Regions from separate parts of the Homo sapiens genome. Here regions 1 and 3 are each linked to region 2. Evidence: promoter capture Hi-C in human tissues and cell types (Jung and others, 2019). All regions are on one chromosome and are shown on one strand. The core of a region is centred on a gene start or on the middle of the fragment in contact, and the rest is flanking DNA. Distances in the headings are between cores, read along the strand shown. Region 1 has its middle 120 kb from the start of LINC02269. Region 2 holds the start of HAND2 (heart and neural crest derivatives expressed 2). Region 3 has its middle 9.6 kb from the start of SAP30.

Evidence for each region. Contacts are between HindIII fragments. The study calls those that stand out against the background at their distance.
Region 1: a contact is called between a fragment that was not itself captured here and the fragment with the promoter of HAND2 in region 2, in 2 of the 25 tissues and cell types used here (H1 embryonic stem cells and spleen).
Region 3: a fragment that was not itself captured here is called in contact with the fragment with the promoter of HAND2 in region 2 in 1 of the 25 tissues and cell types used here (H1 embryonic stem cells).

What each region holds. Positions count from the first base shown.
Region 1 is chr4:173,777,948-173,781,981 of GRCh38, reverse strand. No RefSeq gene overlaps it. Among named protein-coding and RNA genes, the nearest start is that of LINC02269, 120 kb to the left of the region's middle. The HindIII fragment of the contact is 3,360 bases long and covers 306-3,665 here.
Region 2 is chr4:173,528,032-173,531,900 of GRCh38, reverse strand. It overlaps HAND2 (heart and neural crest derivatives expressed 2), which reads left to right and starts at 1,672. Exons shown (of 2, transcript NM_021973.3): 1 at 1,672-3,166. The coding sequence starts at 2,612. It overlaps HAND2-AS1 (HAND2 antisense RNA 1), which reads right to left and starts at 1,530. Exons shown (of 5, transcript NR_136196.1): 1 at 1,362-1,530; 2 at 823-934. The HindIII fragment of the contact is 12,639 bases long and covers 1-3,869 here.
Region 3 is chr4:173,378,262-173,382,808 of GRCh38, reverse strand. No RefSeq gene overlaps it. Among named protein-coding and RNA genes, the nearest start is that of SAP30, 9.6 kb to the right of the region's middle. The HindIII fragment of the contact is 4,980 bases long and covers 1-3,801 here.

The sequences.
Region 1 (4,034 bases), core at 736-3,235, 250 kb before region 2:
GCTCTGAAAGAGGTATGTTGGAACGTCTGCTCCTAGCCAGTCATGAATTGCTTAAGACTTCAGAAACTATTATATTTTCACAGATTGGCTTTCTGACTAAACATATTTCGACCATTTTTCTTCAAGACACTTCCAGAGACTACTGTGGGTTCACCAATTTTTATAAGCATTAAGGTCTGAGGCATTTATCAAAACACTACTGTTGAAGCCTTTGCAATTCCAGTTGTTCATCCATTACTCTTGAGCAGTTGCATTCCCTAGGCCAAGTGGCATCAGAATACAGATTTTGTGGGTTCATTTGGTTCCAGACTGCTGAAATAAAGCACATATTGCAATAAAATTAGTCCCATGAATTTTTGGGTTTCCCAGTGAATGTAAAAGTTAGGTTTACACCATACTGTAGTCCATTAAGTTTGCTAAAGCATTACGTCTAAAAAATGTACATAACATTTAAAAAATCTTTTATTGCTAAAAAATGCTAACAATCATTTGAGCAAGTCATAATTTTTCCGCTGGTTGAAGGTCTTTCTCCATGTTGATGGCTGCTGACTGCTCAGGGTAATGGTTGCTGAAGGTTGGGTTGGTTGTGGCAATTTCTTAAGACAAGACAATGAAGTTTGTTACATCAGTTGATGCTTCTTTCACGAAAGATTTCTCTGTAGCAAGGAATGCTGCTTGACAGCATTTTACCCTTTGAATTTCTTTCACAATTGAAATCAATCTTCTGAAACCATGTCACTGCTTTATCAACTAAATTTATGAAATATTCTAAATCCTTTGTTGTCATTTCAACAATGTTCACAACATCTTTACTAGGAGTAGATTTCATTGTAAGAAACTATTTCTTTTTTTTTAGTTTTTTTATTTTATTAATGTTATACTTTAAGTTTTAGGGTACATGCGCACAACGTGCAGGTTTGTTACATATGTATACATGTGCCATGTTGGTATGCTGCACCCATTAACTCGTCATTTAGCATTAGGTATATCTCCTAATGCTATCCCTCCCCCCTCCCCCCACCCCACAACAGTCCCTGATGTGTGATGTTCCCCTTCCTGTGTCCATGTGTTCTCATTGTTCAATTCCCACCTATGAGTGAGAACATGAGGTGTTTGGTTTTTTGTCCTTGTGATAGTTTGCTGAGAATGATGGTTTCCAGCTTCATCCATATTTCTTTTCCTTATACATGAGAAGCAACTACTCATCCATTCAAGTTTTATCAGGAGATTGCAGCAATTCAGTCACATCTTCAGGCTCCACTTCTAATTCTAGATCTCTTGCTATTTCCACCACTTCTATAGTTAATTCCTCAACTGAAGTCTTGAACCCCTCAAAGTCATCATGACAGTTGGCATCAACTTCCAAACTCCTGTTAATATTGATATTTTGACCTCCTCCTATGAATCAGGAATATTTTTAATGACATCTAGAATGGTGAATCCTTTCCAGAAGGTTTGCAAATTATTTTGCCCAGTTCCATCAGAGGAATCACTATCTACAGCAAATATAAACTGTATTTCTTAAATAATAAGACTTCAAAATCACAATTACTCCTTGATCCATGGGCTACAGGACGGATGTTGTGTTAGAAGGCATAAAAACAACATTAATCTCCTTATACATTTCCGTCAGAGCTCCCGGGTGACCAGGTGCATTGTTAATAAGCAGTAATACTTGGAAAGGAATACTTTTTTCTAAGCAGTAGTTCTCAACAGTGGGCTTAAAATATTTAGTGAGTCAAGCTGTAAACAGATGTTCCATCATCCAGGCTTGTTGTTCCATTTCTAGAGCACAGGCAGGGTAAATTTAGCATAATTCTTAAGGATCCTAGGATTTTTGCAATAATAAATGAACATTGGCTTTGACTTAAATTCACCATCTGCATTAGCCCCTCACGAGAGAATTCGCCTGTCCTTTGAAGCTTTGGCATAAGGCATTGACTGCTCTTTAGCTGTGAAAGTCCTAAATGGCATCTTCTCTAAACAGAAGTTTGCTTCTATCAAAATCCATTTTTCTGGTGTAGCCACCTTCATGAACAATCTTAACTACATCTGGATAACTTGCTACAAATTCGCCATCAGCACTTGCTGCTTCGCATTGCACTTTTATGTTATGGAGATGGTGTCTTTCCTTAAACCTAATTAACTAACCCTAATAGCTTCAAATCTTTCTTCTGCAGCTTCCTCACATCTTGCAGTCTTCATAGAACTGAAGAGAGTTAAGGCTTTGCTCTGAATTAGGCTTTGTACTCAAACTTTCTCTGTATCAGCAATAAGGTTGTTGTTCCACGTTCTTATCATTCATGTGTTCACTGGACTAGCACTTCTAATTTCCTTCAAGAAGTTTCCCTTTGCATTTGCAGCTTGGTTATTTGGTGCAAGAGGCCTAATTTTTAGCCATTCTTGGCTTTTGACATGCCTTCCTCACTTAGCTTAATCATTTCTGGCTTTTGATTTAAAGTGAGAGATGTGCAATGTTTCCTTCCACTTGAACACTCACAGGCCTTATAGAGTTATTAATTAGCCTAATTTTAATATTGCTGTGTATCAGGGAATAGGGAGGCCTGAGAAGAGGGAGAGACATGGGGGGACAGCTAGTCAGTAGAGCAGTCAGATCACATACAACATTTATTAAGTTTGTGGTCTACTATGGGTATGGTTTGTGGAGCCCCAAAACAATTATAATAGTAACATCAAGGATCACTGACCACAGATCACCATAGCAGATATAATAACAATGAAAAAGTTCTAAATATTGCAAAAGTTACCAAAATGTGACACAGAGATACTGTTGGAAAAATGATACCAAAAGGCTTGCTTGATGCAGAGCTGTCATAGATCTTCAATTTGTTTAAAAAAAAATCAGTTTCTGGATTAGAGGGGAAAATAGCAGACAGGAGGCAGGACTAACTTGCAACTCCCACTTAGATGGACAGAACGGCATGTGGAGAACCACACTGTGAACATTTGCTCCAAGAACTACCTCAGGAACATACCAGGAAAATTGAGAGAATTTGCAGACACTTTGAAAGAAGGAGTTTGCCACTGCAAACTCTGTGAGACAGCCAAAACACTGTGAGTACCCAAAGTGTAAGAGGAGGAAGTCTGCCCCCAAACACACATCCTCACCTAGGAGTCTGAAAATCCAGATCACAGAAGAAGGATTTAACCTTACCTAGAGCTGAAATGAATTTAGAGAGCTGAGTGAAATATAAAAGTAGAAGAAGCAGTGGGAAGAGCCCTGTAGGCACTCTCAGTCCCCAAAGCGGCCCAGGGAAGCCATTTCTGAGTTTATCTCACAGGGGTACTTGAGGAGGGTTGCTAGTGGAATTAGGGAGAGGTCACAGAGAGAAAGAAACGTCCAGCTGAACTTAGTAATAATTTTGACAGAGTGCAAATTTTCCTGGGCAGAATTTGGGATGGGGGTCAGGAGGTGCAATGGAAGTGCAGATATGAGCACAGACACCACGGCAGGCAGGGGAGGGTGAGGCTTGAGAGCCCTGCTTGCTTTCTTAATGGGGAGGCTTATAGCAACGGACAGGATCTCAGCCCTGCACAGCAGAGGCCTGGATATAAACTTGTCTCCGTTGGCTGTTGGTGGAGCACAGCAGGAGTGAGATTGTCCTTGCTGGCTATGTGGGAGCTGAGTGAGGCCTGTCACTGCTATTTTTCTCCCACTTGCCTGATGACTGCCTGACACAGGAGAGGCAACCATAATCTCCCTGGGAACATAACTCCATTAACCAGACAACCACACCCCCATCCACCACAGTGGCCATAGCAAGTCCCACTCAAGGGCATTCTGTGCTCAGACCCACCTAACCCTGCCCCCACCTGATGGTTTTTCTTTATCTGCCCTGGTAGTCAAAGACAAAGGACATAATCCCCTGGGAACTCTACGGCCCCACCCACCTCCTGAGAAACCCAAGTACTTATACAGGCAACCCTAGGGCAAGCTCGTATCTCCCCTATACCACCACAGCCAATGCTCTCTTGAAAGCACCACATCCTGGCTGGAGACCAACCAACTCAAA
Region 2 (3,869 bases), core at 423-2,922:
ACCTGAAATATATATATTTCTCAATCCTGCTGCCCAAGACTCTAGGGCTAGTGGAGGGCAGAGCCCGAGCACAGAGTCAACTGCAACACCGAAGTTGGGCGCCCTCCATTCGCACTGACCTCGCCTTCCTGCCCCAACCACTTTGTCGGCGGTGAGCAAGGAAAGGACTGTCCTTGTGGAGTCCTTCGGGTGGGGATCGCTTTGTGGCCTGCGGCCGGACTCTGCCCGCCTCCAAAGGGCGATGCTCAAGGTGGAGTCTTTGGTCTCCCTTGGGCTAACCTGGCCTGACCAGCGGCGAGCCCCAGGCCGCCCTGTCCCGCGCTGGCGCCGCAGGCCCTCGCCTCCCTCTAATTTACAGCCCGCGGGCTCCTGTTGACACCGTTTTCCACACCGAACTCCTTCGGGTGGAATCTGCATATACACATCAGCCTCCCCTCTCGGCTTGGGGCCAAGCCTGGGGTGATTTCAGCTCCTGCCATTTACCACCCGCCCTCGCCGCACGTGAGCCTTCTCAAGAAGCTCATGCCACACGGGCGCTGCGGCCCGGGTGCCCCGCGGCCCGGTGACTTACAAGTGGAGATCCATTTTCCGTTATAATGCGTTCAAGATCACCAAGGCCAGCAGTCTCAACATCCACGAGCCGTCCTCCCGGCCTGCCTCTTAAACTGGCGTTTAATGGTTCCCCTCCGATAACTAAACCTGCTTTCCACAGATGCCCGCTTTTATGAGGGAGGCAGGAATGCAGAGATATATTTATATGTTTGTTCATAAAAACTGGAAAATAAGCTCTGAACACGCCGTAAAAAATATTCAGTTACTTACCAAACAGGCTAGTTAAACCAGGGGAACACCGATACCAGCCACACTACAGATTCGGGGAATCGAGGTGCCCGCACTTCAAAATCGCCCAAGGTCTTCGTAGGGACTGGTGTCCCTGAAGGATGTGGAAATAACAGCATTTACAATCGGCTTGACATGTTCGCCCGGAGGACTCAGCCGTCATCTCCAAAGTTTGCCGCAATAACGTGAGCCACCCCAAACAGCTCTAACCGGGGTAACTTGGTGGGTAACTCAATAGCCACTGAGACCGGCGTTTCGAGCCTGTAAACGGGTCAAAGAAACACCCTTCTCCAGCCGCTCCTCGTCCCTGCTGGGGCAAAGAGCGCCAGCTCCCAGCCGCGCCTTTGTGGGGGCCCCCACCGCCCGTCACGAGGCTCCCGGCGCCCCTGCATAAAATTGTAAGAGGCTGCCTGCGTATATTTTCTTACCTCGATTACCTACAAAGCACTTCGAAAAGCAATACCTGCGTTTTCTTTCTTTCTTTCTTTTCAACCAGAAAAGAGAGCAGAGTGATACTGTACCTGGTTAGAGATTCTTCAATATTTGAGACTTGGGGGGAAAATATTTTAATAGTGAAGCATCTGTTAAACACTTGCATTATCCTCTGACTGATAAAAAAAGTTTTTTTAACCCTGCCCCCCCCCCCCGCCAAGTTTTAATTATCTTATGGTTATGAGGAGGTAGCCAATCCTGGAAGAGGACCTCGGCAATTAGCAACGTGAACATCAAAAAGTTTTATTGCCGAGAGCTCGAGGCGCCGCCCCTGCCGCCCCGGGATTGGCGTGAGGAGCCTCTGACGACATATATTAACCCGAGCGGCCCTAAAGATGTAGCTGTACATGGAGATCTTGCTGGGAAAATCCGCTTGCTCCCCTCACGTCGTCCAGCCCAGGAGAACCACCGCCGTCACCCCGGAGCTTCCTCGGCCACCGCGCAGAGCCCTCCGAGAGCCCGAGCCGCGGTCTTCGAGCTCCAAGGCTCATTCAGGGCCCCAGATCCTTGCCCCGAAAGGAGAGGATCTGAGAAAATGGATGCACTGAGACCTCTCTGAAAACCCTCCGAGAGAGCGCGAGAGGAGCGAGGACACGTTACTCGCAGCTAAAATCACATTTAAGGACCAAAACAACAACAACCAAAAATTTCATTAAAACAATAAGCGCCCAAGAACCCAGATCGGGCTGGTGGGGGGAGGGGAAGAGGCGGGAAGGGGAGGGTCGCACGGAGGTAGCTTTGCAGTGAGCAGTCGACCCCGCCGCCCCCCGGCACAGCTGGACCGGCTCCTCCAGCCGCGGCTCAGACTCGCCCCTGGATTCCGGGTTAGCTTCGGTGCCAGGACCGCGGCCCGGGCTTGGATTCCCGAGACTCCGCGTACCAGCCTCGCGGGAGCCCCGGCACCTTTGTATGAGCACGAGAGGATTCTGCCTCCGCGCAGCAGCCCGGGAAGCAGGAGCCGAAGCGCGGGCCGTGGAGCAAGGCGGGAACCGGAGGCGGCGGCGGCGGCGGCCAGGGGCGCACGGTGCCAGGACCAGCTCGCCGCGCCCCATGGGGAGCCGGCGGCCGCAGCGCTGCTGAGGCGGGCCCGGCTGGCCAGGCGGGGGGACGGGGCCCGGGCTGCAGCAGCCCCCTCTGCGGCTGCCGGGCGGGCCCGGGCGCCCGGGGGCTGGGGGGTGGGGGGTGGGGGAGGACGCCGAGCGCTGAGGCAGGGGCCCGGGCCGAGGGCGCGGCGGGGCTGCGCGCACGCTGGGGCGCGTGGAGGGGCGCGGAGGGCGAAATGAGTCTGGTAGGTGGTTTTCCCCACCACCCGGTGGTGCACCACGAGGGCTACCCGTTTGCCGCCGCCGCCGCCGCAGCTGCCGCCGCCGCCGCCAGCCGCTGCAGCCATGAGGAGAACCCCTACTTCCATGGCTGGCTCATCGGCCACCCCGAGATGTCGCCCCCCGACTACAGCATGGCCCTGTCCTACAGCCCCGAGTATGCCAGCGGCGCCGCCGGCCTGGACCACTCCCATTACGGGGGGGTGCCGCCGGGCGCCGGGCCCCCGGGCCTGGGGGGGCCGCGCCCGGTGAAGCGCCGAGGCACCGCCAACCGCAAGGAGCGGCGCAGGACTCAGAGCATCAACAGCGCCTTCGCCGAACTGCGCGAGTGCATCCCCAACGTACCCGCCGACACCAAACTCTCCAAAATCAAGACCCTGCGCCTGGCCACCAGCTACATCGCCTACCTCATGGACCTGCTGGCCAAGGACGACCAGAATGGCGAGGCGGAGGCCTTCAAGGCAGAGATCAAGAAGACCGACGTGAAAGAGGAGAAGAGGAAGAAGGAGCTGGTCAGTACCAGGGGGCGGCAGGCGGTGGGGCTGAGGGGGTCAGGGAACTGGTGCTCCCGGCCTCTTTCCAATTGGGCTGAGAAATGGCATCTCGTGTTCTTTGGCTGCGTCCCGCTTCAAGGTTGTTTGCACCAGGTTGTGTAAGGATGGCTTCCGGCATAAGCAGAGAGTTGAGGGGAGGGTGTCAGCAGGAGGAGGAGAAGGTTAGGGATGCTTTGCGCTGGTGATCTTACCTCCGGGTTATCGCTGCTCCCCTAGTACTTAGGACGGACCTTGAAAACTCTGGGTCGCGATCGATCGCGATCGCACTGGTCTGGATGCCTCACCCCGTCTCTGTTAGACCCTTCTTTTGGCCTCCAATCCAATCTTGCTTTCAGATGTTTCCAGAATAAGTCTCGAAGAAGCCCTTGATTCCAATTATTTCACTATTGATCGCACCCCCTACCCCACTCCCAGAAGGAGGCTGCCAGAGACTGAGCCCTGAGTTTTGTGGTTGTTCTCATACTATGCCCGGAAAACGTAATGGTAAACATAAAATAAGTACTTTTGACTTCAAAATACAGCTCCAATTTTTCCTTGGCTATGACGTTAAAATGTAATTTCCCAGATGAGTATATTCCATTGGCATTTCTAATTTTATTTGAATAAGCCTGTACATTTTAAGGGGGAAAAGGCATTACTATGGTCATTGTTATTAAAAATA
Region 3 (4,547 bases), core at 62-2,561, 150 kb after region 2:
CATTAAAAAAGAAAAATATCAAATCAACCTAAATTTACACATTAAGAAAACAGACAAAGAAGAGCAAACTAAATCCAAAGCCAGCAGAAGATAATGAAGATCCGAAAAGAGAAAAATGAAATAGAGAAAAAAATATAATCCATGAGATCAAAGAAAATACCAACAAAATTGATAAATCCTTAGCTAGACTACTAAGAAAAAAGAGAGAAGACATAAATAAGTAGAATCAGAAATAAAGGTAGGGATATTACTGCTGACCTTACAGAAATTAAAAGTATTATAAGAGAATTATAGGAACAATTCGTATGACAACAAGTTAGATAATCTAGGTGAAATAGACAAATTCCATGACTTACCAAAAATAACTTAAAAGAAACACAAAGTCTCAACAGACCTATATATAACAAAAAGACCTATATAAGTAAAAAGATTAAATCCGTCAAAACTCTTCCATCGAAGAAATAGCCTAGACCATATAGGTTCACCCATAAGTTCTGTCAAACATTTAAAGATGAATTAATATCATTCTTACTCAAAAATCTCCAAAAATAGAAGAGGAAAGAATACTTCCTAACACGTTCTATGAGGCCAGCATTATCCTGATACCAAAGTCAGATAAAGATACCATAAGAAAAATATAGACCAATATCCCTTATGAGTATAGATGCAAACACCGTCAACAAAATATTAACAAGCCAAATCCCACAGAACATTAAAAAAATTATGCACTATGACCAAGTGGGATTTATCCCAGAAATGCGAGGGTGGTTCAACATAAGAAGGTCAATGTAATATACACTAAAAAAAAAAAAAGTCATCTCAATACTACTAAGGAAAAAAAAATCATCTCAATACTAAAAGTATTTGACTAAATTCAACACCCTTTCATGATAAAAAAACATTTAGCAAATTAGCAACAGAAGAGGACTTCCTTAACATGACAAAGAACATTTATGAAAACCCACAGCTAACATCACACTGAATGGTCAGACTGAAAGTTTTCCTCCTGAGAAAAGGAACAAGACAACAATTCCTGCTTTCACCACTACTGTTTAACATTGTACTGGAAATCGTAGCCAGGGCAATTTGGCAAGGAAAAGAAATAAAAGGCATCCAAATTGGGAAGGAAGAAGTAAAACCATTTTTGTTTGCAGATAACATGATTCTATATATAGAAAAATCCCATGGAATCCACACACACACAAAAAAAATTACTAGAGCTGATCAATTCAGCACAGTGGCAGCATCAGCACACACCTCTAATGAATGATTCAAAAAAGAATTTAAGAAAACAATTATAATAGTGTCAAAAAGAAGAAAATACATAAACATAAATTTAACCAAGAGGTGAAAGACTTGTACACTGGAAACTATAAAACACTGCAGAAATTAAAGAAGACCTAAAAAAATGGAAAGATATCCCACAATCATGGATTGGAATGCTTAATATTGTTAAGCTGGCAATCTGAAAATGGTCCATAGATTCAATGCAATCTCCACCAAAATTCTAATAGCCTTTTGGGCAAAAAATGAAAAAAACCAATCTTCAAATTCATATGGAACAGCAAGGGGCTCTGAACAGCCAAAACAATACTGAAAAAGAAAAACAAAGTAGAAGGACTCCTACTTCCTGATTTCAAAACTTATTACAAGTCTACAGTAGTCAAGAGTATAGTATTGGCATAAGAATAAATACATAGATCATGGAATAGAATTGAGAGTGCAGAAATAAACATCTATGGCCAACTGATTTCAAGAGGGTCAAGACTATTCAGTTGGGAAAAAATAGTTTCTTCAACAAATCACACTGGACAAGTGGCTAATCACATGCAAAAGAATGAAGTTGGACCCCTACCTCATTCATGTATAAAAATTGATTCACAACAGTTCAACAATCTAAATTTAGGAGTTAAAACTGTAGAACTCCTAGAAAACATATACATTAATGTTTATGATGTTGGTTTTGGCAATGGATTCTTTTGACACCAAAAATATGAGCAACAAAGGAAAAAATAGATAAATTGGACTATGTAAAAATTTAAACTTTTGTGCATCAAAGGACATTATCAGTACTGTGAAAAGGCAACTTACAGAATGAGAGAAAATATTTACAAATCATGTATCTTATAAGGGTTTAATACTCACAATAAATAAACAGTCCTACATTTCAACAACAAAAAACAACCCAACTAAAAAAAAAGAATAAAAAGGACTTGAATAAACACTTCTCCAAAGAAGATATATAAGTGGCCAAGAGCACATGAAAAGATATTCAACAAAATTGATCATTAAGGAAATATAAATAAAATCCACAATGAGATACCACTTCACACCCAGTAGGATGGCTTTAATTTTTTTTTTAATGAAATACAAGTGTTAGTGAATTGAATAGAAGCCTTTATACATTGCTGGTAGAAATGTAAAAGAGTATAGCAACTTGGAAAAGATTGGAAGTTCCTCAAAAAGTTAAGTACAGAATTATTTACGTACCAGCAGTTCTACTGCTAGGTATACACCCAAGAGAAATGAAAACATATGTTCACAGAAAAACTCGTACATGAATGTTTACAGCAGCATTATTCATAATAGCCAAAGGTAGAAACCCAATGTTCATCAACAAATAAATGGATAAATAAACTGTGTTCAATAGATACAATGGAATACTATTCAGCCTGAAAAAGGAAGTACTGCAACTTGGATGAACCTTGAAAACATGCTTTTTTAGCATTATGCTTTTTGGCATGTTTTCAAGGTTCATCCAATTTGCAGTACTTCATTGTATGATTCCCTTATAATATATCCAGAATAGGCAAATCCATAGAGATAAAAAGCAGAATGGAGGTTACCAGGGAATAGGGAGAGGGAAGAAGGCGGAGTGACTATGTATGGCTGTTTTTGTTGGGTGACAAGAAAGTTTTGAAATTAGAGCTGCTGGTTATACAGTATTGCAAATACATTGAATACCACCATATTGTATACTTTAAAATGATTAATTGTATATTTTATTATGTTTCTTAATTTTAAGACTTCATGTAGAAAAACATAGAATTTATTTTTTGTAAAGACATGTATTTCAGGCATTAATTTTTAGGCCTTTCCCAAAATTATTCTTTTGAAGCTAGTAATCAAATAACTAACTTATTTTTTGAGCCCCTGCTATCCATTCAGTATGCTTTTTCTCCTACTTCTAGTGGCATTTAAATTTAGATTCTTCTCTTAATGCTCTAACATCAAAAGTAACCTATACCCTTACAGAAATGAGTTTCCATTCATTTTTTGTTCAGATATAGATAAGTAAAAATAGTTTCTAATGAATCCATCATTTAAAAAATCCAATGGTAACTGAAATTTTCACATAAAACTGACTTTTACATTGCAGCTTCTTGAGTTACTCAGCTTTGGTGAGGTTCTGGAAGTTCTCAACTTACAAGAACTGATTTTTCATATTTTAAATTGTTTTAACAAGGATTTGATTTCATTTAATAACTACCATCCAGAACTCTTCATTCATATTTTATAAAACTACATTTTATTATACAAATAATTATATGAAATAAACATTGCCAGTCAAAGGTTATGTTCATACTTTTATGTCAGCAAATAATTTCAAGTTGTTTTTTTTTTTCACAAGAACAGAATATGGGTCTTGTTTTGTTTTCTGTTTTGTTTTTGCTTTTGTTTTTTGAGTCAGGGTCTCACTCCAACGCCCAGGCTGGAGTGCGGTGCTGCAATCGTGGCTCACTGCAGCCCGTCTCCCAGGCTCAAGTGATTTTCCCACCTCAGCCTCCCAAGTAGCTGGGACTATAGATGCATGCCACCACGCCTATCTAATTTTTGTATTTTTTTGTGGAGATAGGGTTTCGCCATTCTGCCAACAGTGGCCTTGAATGCCTGGGCTCAAGCGATCTGCCCACCTTGGTCTCCTAAAGTGCTGGGATTACAGGTGTGAGCCACTGTACCCGGCCTCAAAATGTGTTTCTATAAGAAATCTTCTCACAGATTTCCAGAATGTCGGAAATGAGAAGTTTCTATAATAGCAATTATCACAGACTCTGCTTGTCAATAAAGTAGCAAGTAAATCTTTAAATGGTCATAGCAAAACCAACGACCAGTTGCTTTATTTTTCATTATATTTTCTAGCTGTCAATACATTAAGAACACTTGAAAATATGCACAGTCACCTACTAATGAACTAGTACTTTAGATGTAGTACTTTAGTTGCATCAGTGGTTCTCAACTAGCTGTGATTTTTGACCCTCAAAGTATGTTTGGCAGTGTCTAGAGGAACTTTTGGTTGTCACACCTTGGGGGAGCTACTGGCACCTACTGAGTGGACTTAGGGATGTTGCTAATCCTCCAATAGACTGAACGGCCTCACACAAAAAAAGAATTAACAAGTCCAAATGTCAACTTTGAGAAATCATGAGCTACATTAATGGTCTCATCCATTTCCAGCCTAAAATCTGCAGCTTTATCTCAGAACAGTTTGCTGAAGCTCGTTTTTTTATGTCACAAGCTATAAATTTGATTTGTAATTATAAGAATTT